4 separate regions of the Homo sapiens genome follow, and all the other regions are linked to region 1. The links are contacts of gene promoters, found by promoter capture Hi-C in blood cells and fetal thymus (Javierre and others, 2016). All regions are on one chromosome and are shown on one strand. The core of a region is centred on a gene start or on the middle of the fragment in contact, and the rest is flanking DNA. Distances in the headings are between cores, read along the strand shown.

Region 1 (6,720 bases), core at 3,489-5,988:
AGACAGGGTTTCACCATGTTTGTTGGCCAGGCTGGTCTTAAACTCCTGACATATGATCTGTCCGCCTCAGCATCCCAAAGCGCTGGGATTACAGGCATGAGCCACTGCGCCCAGCTGAGAGATGGCTGTCTTAACGGACTACCCTGCTCTGGAATATCCCAAGATAAGACCCACTTCCACCCTTCCTCAGTGACTCAGATAAGACCCTCTCCATCCTTCCTCTCACGAAAGATCCCTTGTTTACCTGGATTACCCCAGGTCTCCTTCCTTTTGTTTTGCTTTGAGATGGAGTTTCACTCTTGTTGCTCAGGCTGGAGTGCAATGGCGTGATCTCGGCTCACTGCAACCTCCGCCTCCTGGGTTCAAGCAATTCTCCTGCCTCAGCCTTCCAAGTAGCTGGGATTACAGGCACCATGCCTGGCTAATTTTTGTATTTTTAGTAGAGACAGGGTTTCACCATGTTGGCCAGGCTGGTCTCGAACTCCTGACCTCAAATGATTCCGCCCTCCACCCCCACCTCGGCCTCCCAAAGTGCTGGGATTGCAGGTGTGAGCCACCGAGCCCCGCCTGTCCTTCCTTTCCTTTTTTTTTTCTTTTGAGATGGAGTCTCACTCTGTTGCTCAGGCTCGAGTGCAGTGGCATGATCTTGGCTCACTGCAACCTCTTCCTCCTGGGTTCAAGCGATTCTCCTGCCTCAACCTCCCGAGTGGCTGGGACTACAGGTGTGCACTACCACGCTTGGCTAATTTTTGTATTTCTAGTTGAGATGGGGTTTCACTATATTGGCCAGGCTGGTCTCGAACTCCTGACCTCATGATCCACCCGCCTCAGCCTCCCAAAGTACTGGGATTACAGGTATGAGCCACCGGGCCTGGCTCTTCCTTTTCTTTGATACATTCCTCATTAATAAGCATTCTTCCTATTGCAACAGTCTGAACAAAATGATTTGATTTATAGTCCAGTGCATCTCACCTTTCACACCCTTCTCCTTTATTCCCCTTTTCCTCATCACACAGAATTTTACAATGAGATTTCTGCTTGTGTCAATCTATCAGAAATTCAGCTGACAGGGTGCATGACACTGCGAATGAATTTAATGCCTTTGAACTGAACACACATGGTCCTGACTTAATGATGGTTTGACTTAGGATTTTTAGACTTTAGGATGGGTTTAGTTTTTCTGTAGGTAACCCCATTGTAAGTTGAGGACCATCTGTACTTAAAAATTATACGCTGTATTTTATGTATTTTTTTTCTTTTTTTTTTTTGAGACAGAGTTTCACTCTTGTTGCCTAGGCTGGAGTGCAGTGGCGCGATCTTGGCTCACCGCAACCTCCACTTCCCAGGTTCAAGCGATTCTCCTGCCTCAGCCTCCCAACTAGCTGGGATTACAGGCATGCGCCACCACACCCGGCTAATTTTGTATTTTTAGTAGAGACGGGGTTTCTTCATGTTGGTCAGGCTGGTCTCGAACTCCCGACCTCAGATGAGCCACCCACCTCGGCCTCCCAAAGTGCTGGGATTACAGGTGTGAGCCACCGCGCCCGGCCTTTATGTGCATTTTACTACAATTAAAAATTCATCTTGCAGAGAAATGCAATGGAAATAATTTATTCAAAACAATTAGAACCCCTACTATGTGCTGGGTGATAGGTTGGGGTTGGGGAAATGGGTGGGGCCTGAGTTAGGAAATGAGTAAGACCTGCTTCCTGTGGTCCTGGAGCTCCCAGCCTTGCTGCGGAGACAAACCCATAATCTGTTAATTGAGCTCCATAATTCCAGGTGACACACATTACAGTACACATGCGTAGCGCCTGATTTCAGTCAGGATGCAAAGGGCTTTGAATGCTACACTAAGGACTTTGGATTTTGGTAATTGGGAGTTATGAATGGTTTTAAAGCCAGTGTATGACACGAACAGATTCATTGCAATTCCTAAAGTCTTAGCACCAGACATTTGACATTGTAGGGTGTCAAAGACTGATGGCAGTGACAGGCTGGGCACCATGGCTCACACCTGTAATCTCAGCACTTTGAGAGATGAGGTGGGAGGATCGCTTAAGGCCAGAAGTTCAAAACCAGCCTGGGCAACATAGAGACCCCCATCTTTAGAAAAAATTTTAAAAATTAGCTGAGGCTCACCCAGCAGTTTGAGACTGTAGTGAGCTATGATCACAGTACTGCACCCCAGCCTGATGGATTGAGACCCCATTTCTTCTTTTTTTTGTTTTTTTGAGACGGATCTGCTGCTCAGGCTGGAGTATGGTGGTGGGATCTTCTTGACTCACTGCAACCTCTACCTCCTGGGTTCAAGTGATTCTCCTGCCTCAGCCTTCCAAGTATCTGGGATTACAGGCACCTGCCACCACGCCCATTTAATTTTTGTATATATATGTATATATATATTTTTCGAGACGAAGTCTCACTGTGTTGCCCAGGCTGGAGTGCTGTGGTGCGGTCTCGGCTCACTGCAACCTCCGCCTTCTGGGTTCAAGTGATTCTCCTGCCTCAGCCTCCTGAGTAGCTGGGACTACAGGCGTGTGCCACCACGGCTGGCTAATTTTTTGTATTTTTAGTAGAGATGGGGTTTCACCATGTTGGCCAGGATGGTCTTGAACTCCTGACCTCAGGTGATCCGCCTGCCTCCCAAAGTGCTGGGATTACAGGCCTGAGCCACCGTGCCCAGCCAAGACCCCATCTCTTTAAAAAAAATAGCTGTGACAGCTTTAATTTTAAAAAGTTGATCCCCTGTAAAGTAGGCTCATAATTATGTTTATCTTATTAAATATATTCATGCTCAGGAAAGCAAGAGAGTGTTAACTTTGGTTAAGTCTATTGGGAAGACATAAACACAGATCTGTCAATTGCTCTATATGAGATGTGCATGGAACACTTTGAGAGCTCAGACAGGAGAATCTACCCTGCCTGAGAGGTTTGAGAAGGACCTCCAGAAGGAAGTGGACTGCAGAAAAAAAAAAGAGGGAAGGGAAGCTGGAGCATAAAGATGGAGGAAAAGAGTCATGGGCAATAAGGCCAGGGCCAGATGGCAGGGGGCTTTGTGTGCCAAATTGAGGGGCTTGAATCTCCTCCCCACAGGTGATGGTGAGCCATCAAAGGCCCGGTTAATAAGAATGATGATGATGAAATAGCGCTTATGGCTTGGTGCGGTGGCTTACACCTCTAATCCCAGCACTTTGGGAGGCTGAGGAGAGAGGATCACTGAAGTCTAGAAGTATGAGACAAATCTGGGCAACTTAGTGAGACCTCCCCCACAACCCCATAGCTACAAAAAATAAAAATTAGCAAGGTGAGGTGGCACACACCTGTAGTCCCAGCTACTTGAGAGGCTGAAGTGGGAAGATCCCTTGAGTCCAGGAGGTTGAGGCTGTGGTCATGCCACTGCACTCCAGCCTGGGTGACAGAGAGAGACCCTGTCTCAAAAACAAAAACAAAAACAAAAACAAAAAAAAAAAGAAAAGAAAAAAGAAAGAAATAGTGCTTACTACACGCAAGGCACTGTTCTAAGAGGTTTACCAATATTGACTCATTTAACCCTGACACTTACCATGGTTAGATAGTTTGGATCACTTTAGTGGCTACGTGGAGACCAGTCTGGACACATGTTGTGGTGCCGGATAAAGACGAAGGGATGTGCCTGTAGTCCCAGTAACTCAGGAGGCTAAGGTGGCAGGATCACTTCAGCCAGGGAGGGAGAGGCTGGAGCTGAGATTGTGCCACTGCACTCCAGCCTGGGCAACAGAGCAAGACCTTGTCTCTCTTTTTTTTTTTTTTTTTGAGATGGAGTTTTGCTCTATGTGGCCCAGGCTGGAGTGCAATGGCTTGGTCTCGGCTCACTGCAACCTCTGCCTCCCAGGTTCAAGCGATTCTCCTGCCTCAGCCTCCCAGTAGCTGGGATTACAGGCACGTGCCACCACGCCTGGCTAATTTTTTTTTTTATTTTTAATAGAGACGGGGTTTCTCCACCTTGGTCAGGCTGGTCTCGAACTCCCAACCTCAGGTGATCCGCCTGCCTCGGCCTCCCAAAGTGCTGGGATTACAGGCGTGAGCCACCGCGCCTGGCCAAGACCTCGTCTCAAACCAAAAAGAAAAAAAAGAGGAAGGGAGGAAAGGAGGTGATGGCTTTTAGAATTAATTAATTTGTGTGCTTTCAGTTCTTTTATATCTGTAGGTTGCTTGATGGCCCAGACTATCACGGCAAAGGAGTCATTTGCATTTGAAGAGAATGTGTCTTCCGCAGTTGTTAGGTGGAGTTTCTATAAATATCATCAGGTCAAGTTAGTTGGTAGTGCTGTTCAAGTCTTTTATAAATTGATAGTTTTCCAGCTATTTTACGGATTTGTCTATTTCTCCTTTCACTGCTATATCTTCCAAATTGATTCAGAGAGCTGCAGTCAGGAGCGTACTATTGCAGAGAGGATAGAATGTTTGGGACCAGAAGAAACGTTTTATCTCTTTAAATTTACTCTCGTACGCAGAAAACAAAATACAAATAAACTACGTATCCCAGCAAGCCTAGTGGAACTCAGGGCAAATGCAAATAAGGGGGGGGGCTGGGCATTCGGCTACGCCCCTTTTCTGGGTTGGCAAGGCAACTGATACAGAAGCCAGCCAATCGGTGATATAGTCACCTGCAGGGGCGGGGGCTTGACGAAAGCCAATAGGACGCAGGGCAGATGGCTCTTCGGGCCAATGGGTTGGGCGACGGGGCGGGCTTTTGATGAAGGGTCGTTGGTGGGAAAGATGGCGGCGACTCTGGGACCCCTTGGGTCGTGGCAGCAGTGGCGGCGATGTTTGTCGGCTCGGGATGGGTCCAGGATGTTACTCCTTCTTCTTTTGTTGGGGTCTGGGCAGGGGCCACAGCAAGTCGGGGCGGGTCAAACGTTCGAGTACTTGAAACGGGAGCACTCGCTGTCGAAGCCCTACCAGGGTGAGGCGCCCAGGGTGAGGTGGTCGTGCAGTGGGGCGGGCTTCGGGACTTGATTTCAGGGGTAGAGGCGGGGGCGGCGAAGGGCTTCGTGGCCCGGAGGAAACTGCTGGCGGTGGTGGGGCCCACGGAGACTCCCTCCGCGTTTGGGAGCCACAGGTCTGAAAGGCAGGAGTTAGGTGTGCCTGCCAAGCTCTGGAAGTTTCCAGTAGGTAAAGGCAGGGCTGTCGGGTGCCACTAGTACTAGGCCTGGAGTTAGACAGGAGGAGTTTGGGAAGGGGAGAGAATTGAGAATGGTGAGGAGTGATTGAGGGCTACTAGCAATGAGCCAGTCTCCAGATGGACCTGTGGATGTGCTAGAAATAAAGCAGGAGGAAGAACTGGGGTAGAACTTGAACGAAATGAGAAGATGATAAATTTATGTTGCTGGGTAGAACCACCTTCTCTTCTCCAGCCTAGGGGCCCTGTTGGTGAAAGAGGTTAGGGTTCACAGAACTCTAAGCACAGCTTATCAGCCAGAAAATTAATGCAGTTAGCCACAAAACGATGACAAACCAGTGCAGATGGCTTAACTAACACAAGTCTTTCCCCACTAAGGCGTAGGTAGTGGGACAGAAAACAATTCAAAGTGCAAGAGTATACTCTACTACTAAGGGTAATCATTTATTCACTTACATGCCTGGAGTGCCTCTGTGCTGTCTCTTTGCTAATGCTTATGGGTTTGCAGACACAAAGTTTTCATTCTTAAAGAAGTTTATAGGTGAGGGTACAGGGAGTAGCTTCACACTTTAAGGATTGTTTAAAGAAAGAATGTGACGGCTGGGGCGGTGGCTCACGCCTGTAATCTCCGCACTTTGGGAGGCCGAGGTGGGCGGATCACGAGGTCAGGAGATTGAGACCATCCTAGCTAACACGGTGAAACCCCATCTCTGCTGAAAATACAAAAAAATTAGCCAGGTGTGGTGGCGGGCGCCTGTAGTCCCAGCTACTCAGGAGGCTGAGGCAGGAGAATGGCGTGAACCCGGGAGGCAGAGCTTACAGTGAGCCGAGGTCATGCCACTGCACTTCAGCCTGGGCAACAGAGCGAGACTCCATCTCAAAGAAAAAAAAAAAAGGAAGAATGTGACTAAGCCCCGGAGGCCTGAGGGTCAAACTCTTTTTATTTATATTTATATATTTTTAGAGACAAGGTCTTGTTCCGTTGCCTAGGCTGGAGTGCAGTGGCACAATCATGGCTCATGCAGTTTCAATCTCCTGGGCTCAAGCGATGCTCCCAACTCAGCCTCCTGAGTAGCTAGGACTATGGACAAGGACTACCACACCTGGCTAATTTTTTTTTTGGTAAAGACAGGGTCTTTCTATGTTGCCCAGGCTGGTCTCAAATTGCTGACCTCAAGATGCCCTCCCTCCACATCATCTCAAAGTGTGGGGATTACATGGGTGAGCCACTGCACCTGGCCTGTCAAACTCTTTTTGATATAACTCAGGAAAATTTTTTTCTTTTACGATGCTGAAGTTTACTCACATATAAAACGGGAAGAATGGATGTGAGCTATGGTTACTGTAACATGCATAAAGTGAGAGTTCTGATGTGCTTTGGGGTCCTTACCTGATAAAGGCCTTGTGAAAGCTGTAGAGATGGTAAGATTCATGACTGAGAGAAGATAGGAGATTGAGTGACATTAAAGGGGGAAAAAGATGATGGCTCAGCTTTCAGAGGCTCTGTGGTGGCTGCTTTCTGAATGGATTGGTGTTGAAAAGTATGAACTGATCTA
Region 2 (6,426 bases), core at 1,562-4,061, 210 kb after region 1:
TGTAGCCACAACCAGAAAGAAGTCCGTATCCTTGTGGAGCAGAAGATGTGGCCCTTGCCAACCTCACAGGCTACTAAGAATCAGTCCCCGCTCCAGCTACTCAGCCAAGGCCTTGTGCTGAAAGGGGTGAAAATGCCTTGGACCAGGGCGGACCCTAACACACACTGCACCATCTTGCATGGAGTATTTCTTTCAATGTCACTCTAGCCCTCTGAAGTGGGCGCTGTATCTATATCTATCCCCTTATTACAATTGAGAACCAGAGAGTAAGTGCTGGACAAGCCCACAGACTCGTCCACAGACAGGAAGGAGTAAGTTTGGGCTGGGTGAGGGCCAGGCCCTGGTAAGTCCCAGGGTCAGGGTAACTAAAGCTCTGTGTGAGTCTTGACTGGTGCTTAGCACAAAATGCACTGGACAAGAAATCTCTTAAAACCATTGGGTCTCTGTGACACTTTTACTTAAAATAAGGTCTCAACTGACACTTCCACTCTCTGTTGTATGTCAGGTGACCCTTCCATTTGACAGAAGAGTAAACCAAGGCATGTAGAGATTAAATGACCTCTGCCCAGCCACACCCTGCCCATCTCCCACCAAGATGAGGCGGGAGAGGGGCGAGGAGTTGGGCTGGGGATGGGGGCATGACTGGGGCCAGGACAGAACTCCATCTCCCAGGATACCATGCAAAGGGGGCGTGTAGGGGCTGGGCCTCCGCGTAGGCAGGGCTGTAATTTCTTGGTATTTAAAAAAAAAAAAAAAGGAGCAAAAGGAAAGAGAGAAAGAATCGAAGCCTCAAGCGTCACGTCTAGGAATAGCGCTGGAGTCGGGCCAAGTCATTAGAGACGATGAGTAATCTGGTTAAGTCATTTCTCTAAACACCATTCCTTGTAAGAGAATTAAAATATCAGCTTACATCAGAGGGGGAGAGGCAGGCTCCAGAGGCCCAGGCAGGAGCACGGCCAGGAAGGGGGCACGGCTGTTGCGCTCTGCCACTCAGCCCTGCCCCCGGCGGGGGCTGCATGCGGGGCCCTGCCAGCTGAGCCCTGGGCTTGCGGTGGGGGCTGGCATCCAGCTAGCAGGGGTAGGGGGAGCGGCCCGCCACACCTCCGTTTACCTCATTGTTCAGGGTGCTGGGAGAAGTTCGGGACTGCCTGCTCTTGGGAGAATCGTTGTCCCTCCTGGGGGCAGCTGTTTTGTTTTTTTTTTCTTCAGTGTCTCCCCTCCCTCCTAAGATGTTGAGTTGATATCTCGACAGCTTCAGGTCTACCGTTGGAGTAAAGGGCTGGGGATCGGCCTGGGGACACAGGGAATGGAAAGAGGGGTCCCCAAACCTCTGGAGAGGTGCCGATTTCCCCCTAGACTAACTGGAAAGTGGTGAGGGGTGATGCCTTAATTCCTATTTCCCCCTTTTCCCTTTAGTTGCCCTGTATTTGGAGAACGCAGGGCTGGGAATCTGCCAGACTTATGGAGGCGGTGGTGACTGCCAGCGCCACTTTCCGCATCCTGGGGGCAGGATTATGGTGACCTGGGGAGAGCTGCTGATCATGAAGCTGACCCTTGTGGGAGGCAGTGGTGCAAGTCTGTGGTCCCAGTGACTCCGGAGCTGAGGTGGGAGGGGGATCTCTTGAGCCAGGAGTTCAAGGCTACAGTGAGCTATGATCGCACCAGGGCACTGTAGCCTGGGCGACAGAGCGAGACCCCAACTTAAAAAAAAAAAAGATGCCCTCAGGCTCATTATAATGCCTACCCTCTGAGCCAGGACCCACAATGTGAATTGGGTCTCAGCTGTGAGCAGGACACAGACGTCATCTCACCCTCTGTAGCCCTAAAGAGGCCCGGAGACTTCCTAATGGCCTCCCAGCCATTCCTAGGCCGTGTGGAATCACTCAGGTTTATGGTGGCGGGCCCCAAACACTTGAGGCAGGCTCTCACCACATGCTGACTCCTGCAGCGACAGGCTAGGAGAGGTCCATGCCTCCCTGGGAGCTTCTCAGCCAGTCCAGAGAACAGAAACCTCCCCGGCTCTGGAGTCAGGTGGACTGGTTTGCAATCCGGGTACCCTCCCTTGCAGGTAGTATGACCTGGGATGGGTTATTCACTGTCTCCAACCCTTAGTTTTCCCGTGTGAAATGGCGTTAGCAATACCTAGCTTGCAAGATTACTGTGAGGGTGAGAAATAACATAAGCCTTCAACAACTGGTCATTCTATTGTGGCAGCTACCTGAGAACAGCCTCCTTCGCCGGTGGCATCAGAACTTCTGCAGGGTGGATTCTGCACTCTTCAGGCCTTGCCCTGATGACCTGGGGCTGGGCCCTGAGACCCCACTCCCGATCGGGCTTTCCAGGTCTTTGGGTAGCAGCTGCAAAGCCCTCCCGAGGTTCCTGGTGGGGTCCTAGGCTCTGGCCAGGATGCGGGCATGAAGGGAGGAATTATGGGGGAAGTCAGTGACTCATCTCCAATCTGAGTAGGCCCCACTAACCCCTTCAATACTGGAAGCCCAGGCTTTTGGGGGAGGGACTGCTCTAATTCCTCCTCCCCAGATGAACTCATGGGACTTTGCGAATATGAAAACTAAAGCTTTCAGCCTTGCAATGGCCTGGGGTCAGCTGGCTCCAAGAACCCAGATCCCCCAGAGGTTTCATACTCTTGCTGTGGCTCCCCCACACTGCAGCCCCGACCTGAAGCCCAGGCCCCTGCTTTCATCATCGTGGTATCATCCACCAGGCACCTGCCACAGGCAGGGCTACCCTCCCTGCCTGACATCCCAACTACCTTTGTTGGAAACAGTACCTGGCAGGGAGAACCCAAGGTGAACCCAGGTATACGTGGTTCTGTCTACACCCCAAGAGCTCTCTCATTCTCCCCGCACCTGCTGTGCATCCTTTCTGCTGCTGCACGCCCAGATGTGAGTGTGCAAAGCTGTGTACACACGCCTGTGCATCTATGCATGGGTCTTGCCTGCCAGGAGCCCACAGCTCACACATAGGATCACACAAACATATGTATACACTAACTCACCAGAGAGCCTACAAGAAGCCCCTGAAGCTTTTTCTTCCCCACATCTGGGGCACCCTGGCCTGCCCTGGACTCCTAGAAGAGGACACAGGGTTGTCCAGCCCCCCTCCCTCACCCCAGCTGCCCACCTATGCCATGGTGTCTTCAGCCATGGGGCCTGCCTGAGGGATTCTGCTCTGTTAAAACTGCCTTCGCTCTCTCTGCCTTGGCCTCAGCAGGCTCTTCCAGACCTTCCTGAGTGGTAGTGGCCACGGCTGAAGACAGAGGGCTGCGTGGAGGCTGAAGGCAGAGGGCTGGGCCTTGGGCCTGGGTAAAGACAGCTCTGGACATGGAGGTAGGTTGGCATCCCCCCTCTCTGGCACATACGGCAATATAGCCACACTGGGAGGGCTTTGCCCCAGTGCCTGGTGCTGTTTCTGGAGCTGTGTGTGTGCATGGGCTATACCCTCTGGCCTGGAGGAACCTTCCCGGGCTTGGCAGTTCCCACTGTATTTACCTAGTGAGCTTCTGCTCATCCTTCAAGGGCCCACCTGAGGCAGATACCCAGGGGTCTCAACACACACCTCCAGCAGGGCATGTGCCACATCGTGCTCCTGTGGTCAGCCCCATGCCATTGTGTGACTGGCCAGCAGCTCCCGAGCCTCTCGTCTCCAGCTAGGAGTGGTCTTTACTATCTGCCCACACTACGCTGCTGAAAGGGCCGCAGAACCCCGGCCACTGCTCCTCCAGAAGAGGAAACTGAGGGTCTAAGTGGGAAGGGACTTATCCAAGGTCTCACAGTCGCTTCAAAAGATCTCACAGTTGGTAAAGGAATTGGGAAGGAAGAGGAGGAAGTGAGAGGCCACTGAGGGCAGGTGCACAGTAGGTGCTCAATGAAGATCCACAGAAGGAGAATGAAGGGCACGGAGGAGAGGGAGGAGGAAGAGGCCATGCACCCACCTCCACCCCTATCCCACATCTCCCTCCATCACCAGGCAACATCTGCCCTTTCTTCCCCAGGGGTTAGCGCTTCCTAGTTGTCAAGGGCAGCACATTCTAGATGCTGGGGACTTGACCTCACATGCGGCCCTTCTTGCTGGAGTTTCGCTGGAGTCACACCCTCCCTATGGCTGCAGGCTGGCTGCTCAGGCCACAGCCCCTTTCCTGGTTATCTGTGTTGCTGCTGAATCCTGGCCAGGGGTAGTGAACACAGCCCAGGTCTTGGACTCCAGGACAGCGCCCCCTCAGCTCCCCAAGGAGCTCAGAGGTCCCAAGCCCCTGGCCAGCTTGTCTCAGCTGGAGGGAGGTTCTGGGCATCCTGTAGCTGGACTCTGGGGACTCTGAGGCCTGCCTTGGCTGAGAATCTGTCTTGGCACAGATTCTGTGCCAAAGCGATGGGCAAATTTTTCTCCACAGGAAACCCAAGTACCCCAGTGCAGTTGAACTCTCCGTGCTGTCTCCTATCTATGAAACCGGCTGGCAGGCACAATAACAGCCCTCACGCCTCCGGGTGCAGTTACGGGCATTGGATGAGCTATTTCTTATAAAGGGCTTAGAACTGTGCCCGCTGGCGGGAGGAAGTGCTCCATAAACATTAGCTGGTTTCCACAGCCCTGGGTGAAACAGAAGGCACGGGGTGGGCCCAGGCTGGGGGAGTGGGGACAGGAAACCTGACTTCCAGCTCCAGCCCCAGCTCAGCAGATAGGCCATTTGGTTCTGCAAGGCCCCCACCCCCTTGCCTTCCCTCCTTCTGTACGTGTGTGTCATATTTTGTTGGCTTTGGGGCTTTCTTTTCTTTCTTTCTTTTCTTTTTTTTTTTAAATAAACAAGGGCTGCATGAAACCCCTAATATTCTGGGTAAGTGTTGAAACAGCTCAGAAATCCCCTCCTCCCCTTGTGACTCAGTGGCAGGAGCGATAAGCAGAACTACTGGTGACACTGTGGGAGAGAAATTCTGCAAAATAACAGCTGGGCAGCCCGGGACCCCAGGGAGTTGAAATGGGACCTCGGAGACATCAGGATGTCCTGGAGAGGCACCAAGGCCAGAGGTCCCCCAGGGACCGTGGAGGGGGCATTAAGCCCTGAAAACAGATCATGATGCCCATCCCCCCAGCACAATTAGAAATAAAAACAACCCGGGACAGTTAAATTAGTGTAAGGAAGTCCCTCAAGAGTTTTACTTTTCCCGTAACGGCGATTTTCGATGCTCCTTCGGAAACATCAGATTCTTTCCAAGCGTTATTCTTTTTCTATTTTGGTGCCCGAAGTACTAGCGTGGTGGACCAAGCCCCTACACCAGCCGTGAGCGACCCCTGCGGGCTGCCTGGCCCCTGTGGGCACTGGCTCCGGGGATGCGGCAGGGGGCGGAGGGGGCGACACCGGGCTTGGGGGGCGGGCAGCGGAGGGAGGACTGGGGGTGGGGAGGGGGGAGGGCGGGGAGGGCGCCCAGCGGCGCGGCCGCGCCCCCCACCCCACCCCATTCCACCCCCACCGAGGACCGCGCTGGGGTTTCAGAAAGCGCTTTTCTGGCCCTGCCGCCGGATCTGACTCAAAAAGGGGAGCTGGCTCAAACCGAAAGAATAATTCGGTTAGCCAAAGCGCCGATATTTCCCTGGGGCCCAAATGGCTGCCAGGCAGGGGGCTCCAGGGCCGCAGCCTCGCCGGCCCCTCGGGCCCCGCCGAAAGCCCCGGGCCCCATCCATCTTCGCCACCGAAAGGGGCAGGAAGAGCAGCTGAGAGGAGGGCGCCTCCTCCAGCCCCGCAGGCTCTGCTGCCGGACCGTCGTGTCCCTCCCGAGGCCTTCCCCTGCCTGTCCCAGCGGGCCCTGCTCTCTCGGGTTCTCAGGACGTTGGGCAGACCCCTTAGGCCTCTTTTCTAGCAGCACGCACATTCCTGCACACCTCCGCATGTGAAGTTTTTCTGGAAGTATCATGTGGACACTTTTGGAGGCCTACACCCACTCTTAGAGGTGTCTGGCGTCCCATTGCAGGGGCGTTCCGTCTTTTGAAGTTGAAGAATTGTCTTGGACCATACGTAAAATACACTAACACTACCGACAGCCGGTGAGCTAAAAGAAAAAATCGCGAAAATACCTCAGTGTTCTAAGAAAGCTTTATGAATTTGGGCCGCATTCAAAACCTTCCTCAGTCACATGCCGCCCTTGGGCCACGCGTTGGACAAGCTTGCATCCTAGAGACCAATGCGAAATTAACTCGAAAAGAAAGAACCGCTCGGGCCGATTCAACACCCCTGTCACCTATCCTCACCCACGATTTCACTCCCAGGCCCCTTGGCCTGGCGGCGCTTGCCCTTTGGCCAGCGTCCTAGAGGTCACAGTGAGGCCCAAATGAACGGGGTTTTACCGAACCGACATGCCCAGGAGAGAAACATGGATCTATACAGAGAGGCTAATCATTTGTTTCAAGCTGAATTGC
Region 3 (6,336 bases), core at 2,852-5,351, 150 kb after region 1:
TATTGCTTGAACCTGGGAGGCGGAGGTTGCAGTGAGCTGAGATTGTACCATTGCACTCCAGCCTGGGCAACAGAGCCAGACTCTGTCTCAAAAAAATAAAATAAATAAATAAAATAAAGTGGATATGTAATTGCTAGGAGGAGTCAGGTGGTGATTCTTTTCCAACAAGCAAGGGGATGTTATTAGATTAAGGCTTCTTGCTGATTCAGAAGCTTCTAATAGCTCTGTTCAGATTGCCAGACAGAGCACTGGACTATGGGTCAGGTCATCTGTTTTCAGCCAGCTGTGTGATCCTGGGCAAATCACCTATCCTTCTGGGCTTTGGTTTTCTTACCTGGTTTAGAGAGGAAGTTGACTTAATTCAGTGACTGTTGTGGTGGCAGGATCAGAATCTCCTCAGGCTTTGGAAACCGACGTTTTTTAATGCTTAGAAACAAACTACCCATTTTTTTGACATTTATGAGGCAATTGGAAATTTTAACACTGACTGGATAGTTGTTGATATTACGGAATTGTTAACCTTTTTAATGTGTGATAATGGTATTGTTAGGATTTTAAAACAGTCATTTTTTATTTTGGGGTTCCATACTGCAATATTTTTGGATGGAATGAATTTAAAAAGAAAAGTGAACACCAACTAGACTTCTCTAAGATCTGTATAAGCACTTAATTATCTGTTTTGTTTCTGGCACTGATTGGTGTTTACTATGTGTTTCCTTCATGGGAATGGACTATTGTGTACTCATCACAGCTGAGAAGCTGCAGGGAGGAAGAGGACAGACAGAGACTATGTTGTGCCCTGCATCAGGGTCCAAAAAATGGACTCCCTGCCTGTGGTTATAAGTTCTCTCTCCTCTCTGTCCTGCTGGCCATACCAGGACCTTGTCAGCCTGGCAAGCAGCACCTCTAGCTGGAGGCCTCTGGCAGTGGGCCTCACTGTAGCCTTGTAGCAGGCTGTGGGCAAGCTGGCTCACTCTAAGGTGTATTCATAATCAGAACAGAGTGATCATCTGTGTACAGCCCTGCCTTTGGGCAGGGAAGCCCATGAGGTTTTGTTTTTGTTTTTGATTGAGATGGGGTCTTGCTATATTGCCCAGGTTGGTCTGGAACTCTGGGCTCCAGCAGTCTTCCCACCTCAGCCTCCCAAAGTGCTGGGATTGAAGTCATGAGGTTTGATTGTCAAACTCCTCTTCATTGGTGTGATTATGGCTCACTGCAGCCTCAACCTCTTGGGCTCAAACAATCCTGTGGCCTCGGCCTCCCGAGTAGCTGGGCCTATAAGGCATGCAGCACTATGCTCACCTAATGTTTGAAAAAATTTTGTAGAGATGGGCTAAGTTGCCCAGGCTGGTCTTAAACTTCTGGGCTCAAGCAGTCCTCCTGCCTGGCCTCCCAAAGTGTTGGGATTATAGGCATGAGCCACCTCGCCTGGCCTTCCCTCCTTTACTACATTCTCAGAGACCTCTTAGGAGTTTCCCAAGGGGGAAATTTAGAAAAGTGGGGAAAGCGTTGGTAAAAAAGGCCACCCTCTCTACTTGCTTCCTTATTCTTAAGCTGCAGGGCTCAACATTGATGGCATCCCCCCACACCTACATGTCTAAGGCCTCAAAATCAGAAGTCACGGAAATCTTCCCTTCTGTTCTGTTGCCCTTAAAAACTCACCTATTTCCTTTTTTCTGCATTCCTTTTCTGTCTTCATGTGTAATAATATGAGGTGACCTTTGTTGTTGAGCACAGATTAAACTCAGGAGCTTTATGTGGATTATTTCATTTAATCCTTACGGTGACCCTGGAAAGTAGATGCTGTCATCTACCTCTTACAGGCGAGGAAAAGGAGGCTCAGAGAACATAGGCACTTGCCTTAAAAAGTGGAAAGTTGAGTCTCTCACTCTAGAGTCCATGTTCTGTTAACCACTTGGCAGCTAGAACATGTGTCCTTGTGTATCCAACTTCTTTCCTATTGAGAATTAATTCTTTAAAATAAATTCTCAGGAGTTGGGATAATTGGGATAGAGGGTCTGAATATGATGATAACCTGTCAAAGCTTTGACCCTTCTTCACTACCTCTCCTGCCACAGCGCCTGCCTCCAGCACCCTGAAGATGCTGTGTGATATGTCCTCCTTACCAAGTTGGTGATGGCTGCCTCATGGTGGGCCCTGGACAGGTGTGTGGTCCTGCTGAGCTGTCCACGTGTCGGAAGACCTGTTTAAGACAGTCATTTTTGCCTCTCCGCCAACTGTCTTCAGAGAAACCATTAGGTTAGGTGATACGGTGCCAGCAAGGGAAGCACCATCGTCCAGGATCTGCAAATCTGGTTCCTGGGAACCCCAGACTCCTCAGCAGATCTGGCTGTACATGGATCAGAACCACTTCTTCCCCCGCTTAAGCTGTGGTTTGACCCAAGGGTCAGCATATAGGACTGCCTGCTGCATTTAATGAAGGTGTTTCCTTTTGGAAGTCTGTGCTACCCTCTGCGCCTAGTTGGGAGGAGACATCCATCTGGTCTGGGATTTCGGGAGTTAGAATGGAAAGCTCTTTGCTAAAGACTGGAGTCATCCTGGCCTGCCAACTGGTGGTTCAGAGCCGGACGGGCTTGTTTTGGACATCACTGTTGCCTTCACTCAGCAGCCACGGGAGAGTGCTCCCCATGCAACTCCACCTTAGAAACCACGTCAGATACTGAGTAGCTTGCTGACTCCTGGAAACTTCTGGTTTTTGTTAGTATCATAATGAAGGCAAAGAGAACTAGGCTGTCATCTTTCAGCCTCTTTGACTTACTCTAGATGTTGGGAGCAGTGGTTGCCAGGTGAAACCTGGGCCCTTTGTCTTTTTCACCATGCTTTGGGCAGTTTCTGTATCCAGAGAGTCCGCAGGTTCAGATAAGCTGAAGAAGAGTAATAGAACAGCAAAGGAAGTGGCTTGAAGGATGTGCTAGTAAGCCCTGTGGTTTGTGCTTAGGTCTCTGCTCTGCTACCCAAGGAACTGGTGGTTCAGCTGGAGATAAAAAGAAGAATTTGCCAAGTCAGAGAAGAAACCCCAACCCCGGAAAATCCTCTGTCTCCAGTCTCTGGAGGTGAAGCAGGGACAATAAGCTAAGGTAGTATCTTGGCCATCCCAGGAAACTTGTGGCATTAGGACGATGAAGGCCATGCTTCAGTGTTTTCGTTTCTATTTCATGAGACTTTTTGTCTTCCTGCTTACAAGTGGGAAGATGATTGACAGTGACTCTACTATGCAGGGCTGTTGGTACCAACCTGAGCCCTATAGGTGGCAGTCCCTGGAGAAGTGGTCACAGAAGATGGAGCTCTGATCCCCTGCTTACCTCTTCACAACACTTGTGTGCAAAGATAGTTTTAGATTTGGTTTAGAAGCTATCCTCCAGAACAGGCTCCCATACTTAGAATGTTTCTAGTTAAGGTAATAAATTAGGCAACCCAAGTGTGACTCCACTCAAGTGTCCTTTTCTGTAGGCAGGAAGGGCCCACAACATGGCTTAAAATGTAGTCCATGGTTCTGGCCCACAGTACAGTGTGTATCTATACCAGGTCACCTGTGTTCAATCTGGGAGCCTTCCTGGCCAGTCTGAGTGGCAGCCAGAAGGGAGCTCATAGTGTCTAGGAGTCTCAGGCAAGGTAGGTCAGGGTACTGTGGGCAGGGGGGATGTGTGTGATAGGAGAGGGTACCCTAAACCCCATACCTTCCCTCCCTGACCTGAAAAGCTGATCTCAACAGGGATTCACACAGAATTAGGCTGTGTTTTTGCATTAGCTGGTAGGTGACTTTCTCAAAATTCTTAAATTCAGAAAGTATTTAGTAAACTTGAGGAAGGTATGAAATCTGGAGGAGGCATCCAGGACCCAGGGGTTTGATAGCTTTACAGGTAGGATCATACCACACCAAAAGAGCAGTGGACAATAAGACTATATGAGCTATATGAAGCTTTTAGGAATCATTTAGGACAGACAGAGCCCTAAACAACCCATTCATGACTTAAGTTGTTGGCTCAGTGTATGCTGGGGACAAAGAAAAACTAACAAGCCGACCTGCCTTTATGATAAATTCTAGTGTGCTTACAAGGGATGACTTCCTGAGGTGTGATCTGTCCACCTTGAAGAACTCCACAACTGAAGAAGGGGAGCTGTGAGAACGTGGATTGTTCTACAACTTGCACAGGGTAACAGAGGAAGTGGCTGAGGCCTAGAGTCACGTTTTCCAGTTCCCTTCGCAAACTATATTTCTTGGAACGCGAAAGGAAGCTTTACCTATTTCATAGAAGACCTGGAATCCATAACCTCAGAAGGCAATATTATTGATAGAAAATGTGGAAGGATCAGGAAGTTCTTAGATTCTTGGATGACAGATGCATGTTGATGCCCTATGGAGATGTCCTTGTGTTTTGAGGTCACTGAGGTAGGAAGACCTGTCTACTCTTGGTTTCACCACTAGAACAGTCTTGGGCTGGATGGGTTATAGAGCTGAGCGGCTGTGATGGTTCTGTTTTTACATTAACAAAAACAATTAAAAACACCAAAAACAACATTTGGATTGCTTCAGCTTCTTTTCAGTTGACTTCTCATATGTATTCTGGAAACCACCCAATGAAGTGGGCACCAAAGGTAGAGCTAAGATATTGTAAGGCCAGTGATCATCACCTCACCAATGCCAGGTGGTATGAGGGGGTACTGTAATTTCCTTTTTTTTTTTTCGAGATGGAGTCTCGCATTGTTATTTGGGCTGGAGTGCAATGGCGCGATCTTGGCTAACTGCAACTTCCGCCTCCTGTGTTCAAGCAATTCTCCTGCCTCAGCCTCCCAAGTAGCTGAGATTACAGGCGCCCGACACCACGCCCAGCTAATTTTTTGTGTTTTTAGTAGAGACAGGGTTCCACTATGTTGGCCAAGCTGGTCTCAAACTCCTGACCTTGTGATCCGCCCGCCTCAGCCTCCCAAAGTGCTGGGATTACAGGCGTGAGCCACCACACCCAGCCTGTAATTTCCTTTCTATAAGTGAGGAAACAGGCACAGAGCAGTCAAAACAGCAGGAAATGGCAGAAGCAGTACTGGAACCCAGACAGTCTGATGTCAGTGTCTTTTCTACTCTGCATTGTGCTAGGGTTCTAAGATGGGAGACTGGAGGTAGAGATTAACCCAGGAGGTGAGGAGATGGTGGCTTGGCCTGCACGTGACCTTTTCAGTTTACTTCCCACCAGGCCAAGAGTAATTGATGTTGATATGGTGGGGCTCTTGGCTGAGCCTACGTCAGTAGGTGGGGTCCCTCAACCTTGATCCTGAAAGATCAGTATCCTTTCGCACTTCCTATACCTCCACCCACCGCCAATAAATACATAAAGATTTAGAGATGAATGAATGAATTCCAACCTCTAGATTATTTGTTAACTTGTATTCAGGAGGACCTTCCTTCTAACCCCTAAATTCCAGGTCACTACCCTTGGCATTGGAGCCCTCTGGGTGGAGGCCATAGTTCTGGTATGCTGCTTGGAGTGTCCAGTATACCTGGGCACATCGTGTTACCCTCCTTAGTAGACATCTGGTTTGCTGTCTTCTCCCTCAAACTCTAGTCTCACTGACTTGAGCAGTCAGGTCAAGCGAGATGAGGATTAGATTGTTAAAATGACAGCTCTCTGAAACTTCAGGGGTATGGGGACAGGGCCATAGCAAATAATGATGCAGACAAGTCTTTTTTACCTTTTTATGTCTTTTTCAAGCACACATTTTGGTCAGGGTTGATGGCTGCAAGAAGGAGAAACCTATTCACCACCAAAATAGCTCTGAAAGGGAATATTCTCTCATTAGGCATTTTTATAGACAAGGAGCCTCACGGTTTTGGTACTTGCCTCGTGACCTCAAGTGGCTTGGACTTGCCGGGATCCAGTTTTGATCCTATTGTCACAGGACTTTTTAGCTGCAGAACCCTTTATGGATGGCTGGTCTCTTTCATTCAGTTCAAATTCTGAAGACAGCCTGATTGGCTCACTCTCACTTGTGGGTTGGTTCTCCTTATCTCTTCCCACCCAGTCCAATCATAGTATCCAGAAGATGAAGTCATGTGGTTCATATCATTACTTTTCTAAGGAGAAGTAGATGGATTTAAACAAAGCAAAACACTGCTGGACTGTTAGATATGTGTGTTTTTAACCTGCAATTGTAGTATAGTATAACACCCTTCACCAAGTTTCCCCAGTACTTACATCTCACTTAACTATAATACAAAATTAAAACCAGGAAGTTGGTACAATGTGTGTGTATAGTTCTATGTCATTTTATCGCTGTAACCATAAACAAAATACAGAATGGTTCCATCAGCACAAAGATCTC
Region 4 (6,130 bases), core at 432-2,931, 230 kb after region 1:
ACTGTAAGCCTTGCCTCCCTGCTCACACTTTGTGTGACCCTAAACCTTCAGTAAAAGTTGTTGCTCACAAATGTCTGTGTCAGTGCTACCTGAGTAAAATCAAGGGGAAAGAGGCTACCTGGGTGCACTGGGCTGCAGGGAAGAAAACATCCGCAGGAAAGGAGACAAGGAGAAGGAGGGACCTAGTGGGAGATGATTGAATCATGGCGTGGGGGATCTTTCCCGTGCTGTTCTTGTGATAGTGAATGGGTCTCACAAGATGTAATGGTTTTTAAAACGGGAGTGTCTCTGCACAAGCTTTCTCCTTTGCCTGGTGCCATCCATGCAAGATGTGACTTGCTCCTCCTTGCCTTCCACCATGATTGTGAGGCCTCCCCAGCCATGTGGAACCGTAAGTCCAATAAACCTCTTTCTTTTGGAAATTGTCCAGTCTCGGGTATGTCTTTATCGGCAGCATGAAAATGGAGCCTTGCTTACCCCATCCACCCTGGAGTCCCTGGAGCCCTTGAGCAGGAGGCAGTGGGCTTCTCTCTGAATGGAGAAAGAGGATCCAGAGGATCCAGGCAGTCTCCTTACTTCGGCTCAAATAAATAGCACACTACCCTCAGCTAATGCACTCACCTGCAGCCTCCACGCGGAGTGACTCATGCAAACATGCATGCTATGTCTGCAGTTCCATCCAAAGCCTGCAGCCCCACACCCACCCAGTAGCCTCTGACTTAGCCACCTGGATGATCCAGAACAAACCTGAGAACAAAGAAGTGTGGCTTAAAAATGATACATGTCGCCCAGTACATGTACTGTACTTTTGCACATTTTCAAAGGACATGTGAGATTTCACTCAGGACCCTGATCTTTATTTTATTTTTATTTTTATTTTTATTTTTATTTTTTTTGAGATGGAGTCTCTGTCACCCAGGCTGGAGTGCAGTGGCCTGATCTTGGCTCACTGCAACTTCTGCCTCCCAGGTTTCAAGTGATTCTCCTGCTCAGCCTCCTGAGTAGCTGGGATTACAGGTGTGCACCATCAAGCCAGGCTAATTTTTATGTTTTTAGTAGAGATGGGTTTTTGCCATGTTGGCCAGTCTGGTCTCAAACTCCCGACCTCAGGTGATCCGCCTGCCTCAGCCTCCCAAAGTGCTGGGATTGCAGGCCTGAGCCACTGTGCCTGGCCTTATTTTTTATTTTATTTTTGAAATGGAGTCTTGCTCTGTCACCCAAGCTGGAGTGCAGCCGCATGAACTTGGCTCCCTGTAGCCTCTGCCTCCTGGGTTCTAGCGATTCTCGTGTCTCAGCCTCCCGAGTAGCTGGCGTTACAGGCGTGTGCCACCATCACACCCAGCTAATCTTTGTATTTTTTTGTAGAGACAGGGTTTTGCCCTGTTGTCCAGGCTGGTCTCAAATTCCTGGCCTCAAGCAATCCACCCACCTGGCGCCTCCCAAAGTGCTGGGATTACAGGCATGAGCCACTATGCTCGGCCTCATCTTTGTTTTAGAATTAACAAAACGGTGGAGAACTTTGGGGTCAGTCCTGGTTTGACCTATACGAGTCACTCAGTCTTTCTGAGCCCCAGTCCCCATCTGTAATACACCCCAGTCCCACAGCCAGTGGGTGGTAGAGTCCCCACTCTGTGCTGCTGACTGTGCTAGGCTATTTCATGGCACTTGCAAAGGCTCAGCACATCATGGGCCCCCAGTGTGTGCTGACTGTATGGCTGAAAGGATTGATGAGACACTAAAGTCCCCCATGAAGGCACAAACCAGAAGGTAAGTACTCGTCCAGTCACAATGAAAGGAATGAAAGCATAAGGACGGTGTGCATGCACGTGTGGCGCCGGGGACCCATGCTCCAGGTTAGCTACTGGAAGACACAGAGCCTAACCCAAGCCAAGACAACTCAGATACACTGACAGGATTTGAGGACCCTGTCTTTCTTCCCTCCACCGAATATCTTCACACACAAGGAGGAGCAGAGAGAGGCAGCAGCAGCCCAGTCAGGGCAGAGGTAGTGCTTCGCTTCAGAGGGAAGGGTTGACTCTTAGCTTGCTTCTCAAAGCTCAAGTCGGGGGCTGGGCATGGTGGCTCACGCCTGTAATATCAGCACTTTGGGAGGCCAAGGCAGGCAGATAACCTGAGGTCAGGAGTTCGAGACCAGCCTGGCCAACGTGGTGAAACCCCATCTCTACTAAAATTGCAAAAATTAGCCTGGCATGGCGGCATGCCCCTGTAATCCCAGCTACTCGGGAGGCTGAGGTGGGAGGATTGCTTGAACCCGGGAGGCAGAGGCTGCAGTGAGCCGAGATCGTGCCACTGTACTCCACCCTCTTGACAGAGCTAGACCTCGTCAAAAAAAAAAAAAAAAAAAAAAAGCTCAAGTTGGGAGAGGAGAGGCTCCTTAAGACAGAATGGGCTGGAGTCCACTCCACTCTGGCAGGGAACATTTGGCCCTAGCTCTGCCAGGGTGGAGGGGGTGTCAGGAGACCTAGGGAATGGTCAATCCCTGCCTGTGGAGGATGGACTGTGCCCAAGGCCTGGGCAGTAGAGACAATGACAATGGCTGCAATGAGCTTTGACAATGGGCAAAAACTCAGAGGAGTGGAAGGAAGATATTTTCTTCCTCTCTGCGCTATTTTGGCTTTGGTGAGGGACCAGAAGGAACTCCAGGGATCTGGAAAAATTCTACTGGAGAAGTTGGTGATTTGTCCTTCTGGCCAGTAGAGGTGGTTCTCAGCTACAACAGCTCCCCTGCCCACCCACCCACAGTGCCCCCACAGCTGAGTTCCTGCGGGCTGGGTGCCAGGCGATGTGCATGCAGCACATGTGAGTCCCAGGGGCATGGGGTCTCCCAGCGCTCAGAGCCTCCCACCACCCTGCACCCAGGGTGCCATGCCCTCTCTCTTTCCCTGCACCCTATGGCTGCTGTTTTCCCTCAATATCCATTCTCTCCTTCTCTATTGTAATATTGGAACACTCCAATTTCTGTCTAGCTGGGCACATGATTGCCCAGAATGAAGCCTACACTTCCCAGTTCCTTGCAGCTGGATGTGGCCACACAACTAAGCTTTGGTCAATGGGATTCAAGCTGAAGTTTGGGCCATGTGTGCTCTTTCTGGCTGTGCCCTTTAAGGAAAGGGGCATGCCATGGCCTACTCTGGCCCCTTTTCCCTGCTGGCAGGAGGCATAACACTTCTCTTGACCCACCTGTCTGGGGCTGCAGATGCCCCTGTCCAGGAGGTTTGGCAGAGCCAGGGGCTGCCCTAGCCATGCTGGGTTGGAGGTCTCAGGGTCCTGGAGAGGCACAGTGCTTGTGACCTCACCTGAGCGATCCCACACAGGGCTCCACGGGCCCCACCTTGCAGTGAGAGGACTGTCGGGCACAGTGAATGGCCCCAAGAAAGGCACTGATGTCCTCTTCAGTAAGTGGGGGGCGGGGGGGTGGTTTACTGGTAAGAGCAGGTATTTACTGGTTAGTGCAGTTCCCTGTGTGGGAATGTGCTACTCATTACTCATTCAGCCCTCCTATCAGCCCGCACAGAAGGCCTCTTTATTTCCATTTTGCACATGAGAAAATTAAGGCTTAGAAAGTGTTGTTAGCCAGCCCACAGGCTTATGGCTGTTAAAGTCTGGATTTGAACCCAGCTCTGGCTTCAAAATTTATGCAGTTGGTCACTCCATTGTTCTCCTTCCCCAGTAACTCCGAAAGATCCATCAGAGTCCTCCAGCTGAACGACTGGATCCCTGCCTGGCTGATCCCATCCACCACTGTATGACTGATCGCTTCATCTATGTTCCCAGTGCTGTCATCTCACCTGAGCTTCCACTTGGATTCTCAGTTGCCTTTGAGCCACCTGACTTGATGGTTAACAGCTGCCTCAGACACAGCTATCTGCTAGTACTGTGTTCCTCCCAGACTACCCTCAGTAGATCTGTGTCCCTCCCCGGGGCCCTGGCATCACCTCCCACTGTTGCCAGGCTTAGCCTTGGCTCTCCTGGGGTGCCCTTCCCTGCCTCGTGCCCTTATTAACTTCTCACAGTTCCCTTCCCCTCCTTGCATGCTTCCATTTTCTGCCCAATGGTTCTTTCCCCCAAGCAGACAGTTCCAGGTTCCTCAACCCTTGGCTCCTGCTGAGAATCTTTCAGCAATCCCCTATTTGCTATGGAAGAGTCCAGCCCCTCCACGGCACGGCCCCTGTGATCAGGCTGCCTTCCTGCCCCCCTCCCCACAAGTTGAAGGACCACTGCTCCACTCTACCCTGGGCTAGGCAGTGCTGGCTTCCCACCAACATCCAGTTTCTCCTTCTTCCTTAGTGACAGACCCCAATTTTTAGCTGCTCTTCCCGATAAAGACCACATTTCTCAGTTTCCCTTGCAGCTAGCTGTGGCCATGTGACAAGGTTCTGGCCAATGAGCTATAAATGAAAACGTTACATAGGCCCTCCAGTAAATCAGCTTAATTGCAAGCTGGCTTGGCTTAGCTTAGAGGAGTGCCCATTTGAGTCTTTCTCTTCCCTGATGCTTGGAGCTCTGATGTACTGGCTGGAGTTCCAGCAGCACTTTTGGTACATGACGTGACCTTGAGGCCAGTGCTAGAATGGTGGAGCTGAACAGCGGAGAAAGCCTGGGTCCCCTATGGCTGCAGAGGTGTCATGACTAGCTGGACTGCCTGTCTTCAGCTTATTTTATGTGAAAAAGAAATGAACATGCCTTGCTCAAGCCACTGTCCTTTTGGACATTCTCTTGCATGCAAGCAATCCTAATCCTACCTGATACAACCATACAGCACAGATCATGTCTCCTTTCCTATGCTTTTGTGTGTGTATTCCTTCTCCCTGAAATGCCTTTCATTCCTTTCTTGGCTGTTGAAATCCTATTTACCTTTCAGGGCACAATTTTAATAACTCTTCTTCCACAAAACCTTCACCCATTCCCTGGGCATAACAACCCCTCGACACCGCTGGTTTTCCCAGCCCTCAGTTTGGCCCTCTTGTAGCACTTACCTAAATTCCAGGGCATGCACAAAGTGGCTGAAGGATGAGGATTGGGTTTCCTTCAATCTCTGGTTACCCAGAACTGGGACAGTGCTTGGCACATAGCAGGCACTAAATCAATTCCTGTTGAACACACATGCATGCACACATGCACACGCATGCACACGCATACACACACCCCACACAGGGCAGGCACCACCAGGGCAGGTACCAGGTGTCTTTCCAGGACAGACACCCTGACAGTTGTGTATGGGGTGAGGGGGCACGGGAAAAAGGAAAACAAGAAACCAAAAGAAGAGAGGGCACACCTTTCCCTTGACCCTTCCCTCACGCACAGGCATGAGCAGCCACGCCAGGCCTGGAAGCTGTGCCTCTCTCCCCCAGCTCCCCTCTCTGGCAGGCTCCCCATTCATGCCCAGTGGGCGCTCCCGTGCTGGCTGCTGGCGGGGAGAACCAGGAGGGAGGAAGGCTGTGGAGGCGCTCGGCAGAATCAGGACCCAGGAGGACCGCAGCAGAGCGGAAGTGACAGCACAGACCTGTTAATAACTCTGGGCTGGTACTGTGCTACAGGCTGGCCTCCCTCTCCTCCCTCCCACCCCCAAGGCCCCGTGGGGGCTGCAGCTATTGGTCCAGAGGGCTTGTTGGAGTTGTTGGGTGCTCGAGAGGCAGGCCGACTTGGTGGCTGAGGGCGGCGCCTAGGACACAGGTGCAGTCCTGGCGGAGCGTTTGTGGCCCATTCCCTCCAGGGCACCAGGCCTGTGGTCAGTTCCGCTGCCGGCCACCGGGTGGCAGTGCTGGTCAAGCCCTCCAGCCTCCAGAGCCGGTCTTCCCAGGCGGCGTGGATGCTCCCTGACTCACCAGCTCCGCCAGAACGACATTGTTAGGGCTGGAAGGGCTTAGCCAACATAACACGAAGACGCAATTTATGTATGATTTGAGGGTCCGATTGGAAGGGTTTTTTTGTACATCTACACACCTGTGTGACCACGATCAAGGTGCAGGACGTTTCCAGCTCCCCAGAGGCTTCCCGTGTCCCTGCCGATCACTACCTCCCAAAGGCAGCCTTGTCCTGCTTCGAACACCACGGATGGGTTTTGCCTGAACTTCCTATGAATGGCAGCACGCGGTGCTCTTTGGGTCTT

Evidence for each region. Contacts are between HindIII fragments. The CHiCAGO score rates a contact against its expected background, and 5 or more counts as called.
Region 2: a contact is called between a fragment that was not itself captured here and the fragment with the promoter of LMAN2L in region 1, in 1 of 17 cell types (megakaryocytes). The highest score is 5.4, in megakaryocytes.
Region 3: a fragment that was not itself captured here is called in contact with the fragment with the promoter of LMAN2L in region 1 in 15 of 17 cell types (M1 macrophages, M0 macrophages, M2 macrophages and 12 more); the score reaches 12.6 in M1 macrophages.
Region 4: a fragment that was not itself captured here is called in contact with the fragment with the promoter of LMAN2L in region 1 in 2 of 17 cell types (neutrophils and naive CD8 T cells); the score reaches 7.9 in neutrophils.

Annotation. Positions count from the first base shown.
Region 1 is chr2:96,738,082-96,744,801 of GRCh38, reverse strand. LMAN2L (lectin, mannose binding 2 like) reads left to right here and starts at 4,738. Exons shown (of 8, transcript NM_030805.4): 1 at 4,738-4,948. The coding sequence starts at 4,762. RefSeq lists enhancers at 4,485-5,422, 5,423-6,362. The HindIII fragment of the contact is 9,784 bases long and covers 1-6,720 here.
Region 2 is chr2:96,526,655-96,533,080 of GRCh38, reverse strand. LOC105373496 (a long non-coding RNA gene) reads left to right here and starts at 775. Exons shown (of 3, transcript NR_135564.1): 1 at 775-854; 2 at 3,232-3,347; 3 at 4,898-5,141. RefSeq lists enhancers at 732-781, 490-1,279, 1,280-2,071, 4,282-4,431 and silencers at 982-1,061, 5,292-5,391, 5,542-5,881. The HindIII fragment of the contact is 468 bases long and covers 2,578-3,045 here.
Region 3 is chr2:96,591,374-96,597,709 of GRCh38, reverse strand. It overlaps KANSL3 (KAT8 regulatory NSL complex subunit 3), which reads left to right. Exons shown (of 21, transcript NM_001115016.3): 21 at 2,079-4,538. The coding sequence ends at 2,099. Among named protein-coding and RNA genes, the nearest start is that of KANSL3, 44 kb to the left of the region's middle. The HindIII fragment of the contact is 317 bases long and covers 3,943-4,259 here.
Region 4 is chr2:96,509,216-96,515,345 of GRCh38, reverse strand. No RefSeq gene overlaps it. Among named protein-coding and RNA genes, the nearest start is that of NEURL3, 6.9 kb to the right of the region's middle. The HindIII fragment of the contact is 2,764 bases long and covers 300-3,063 here.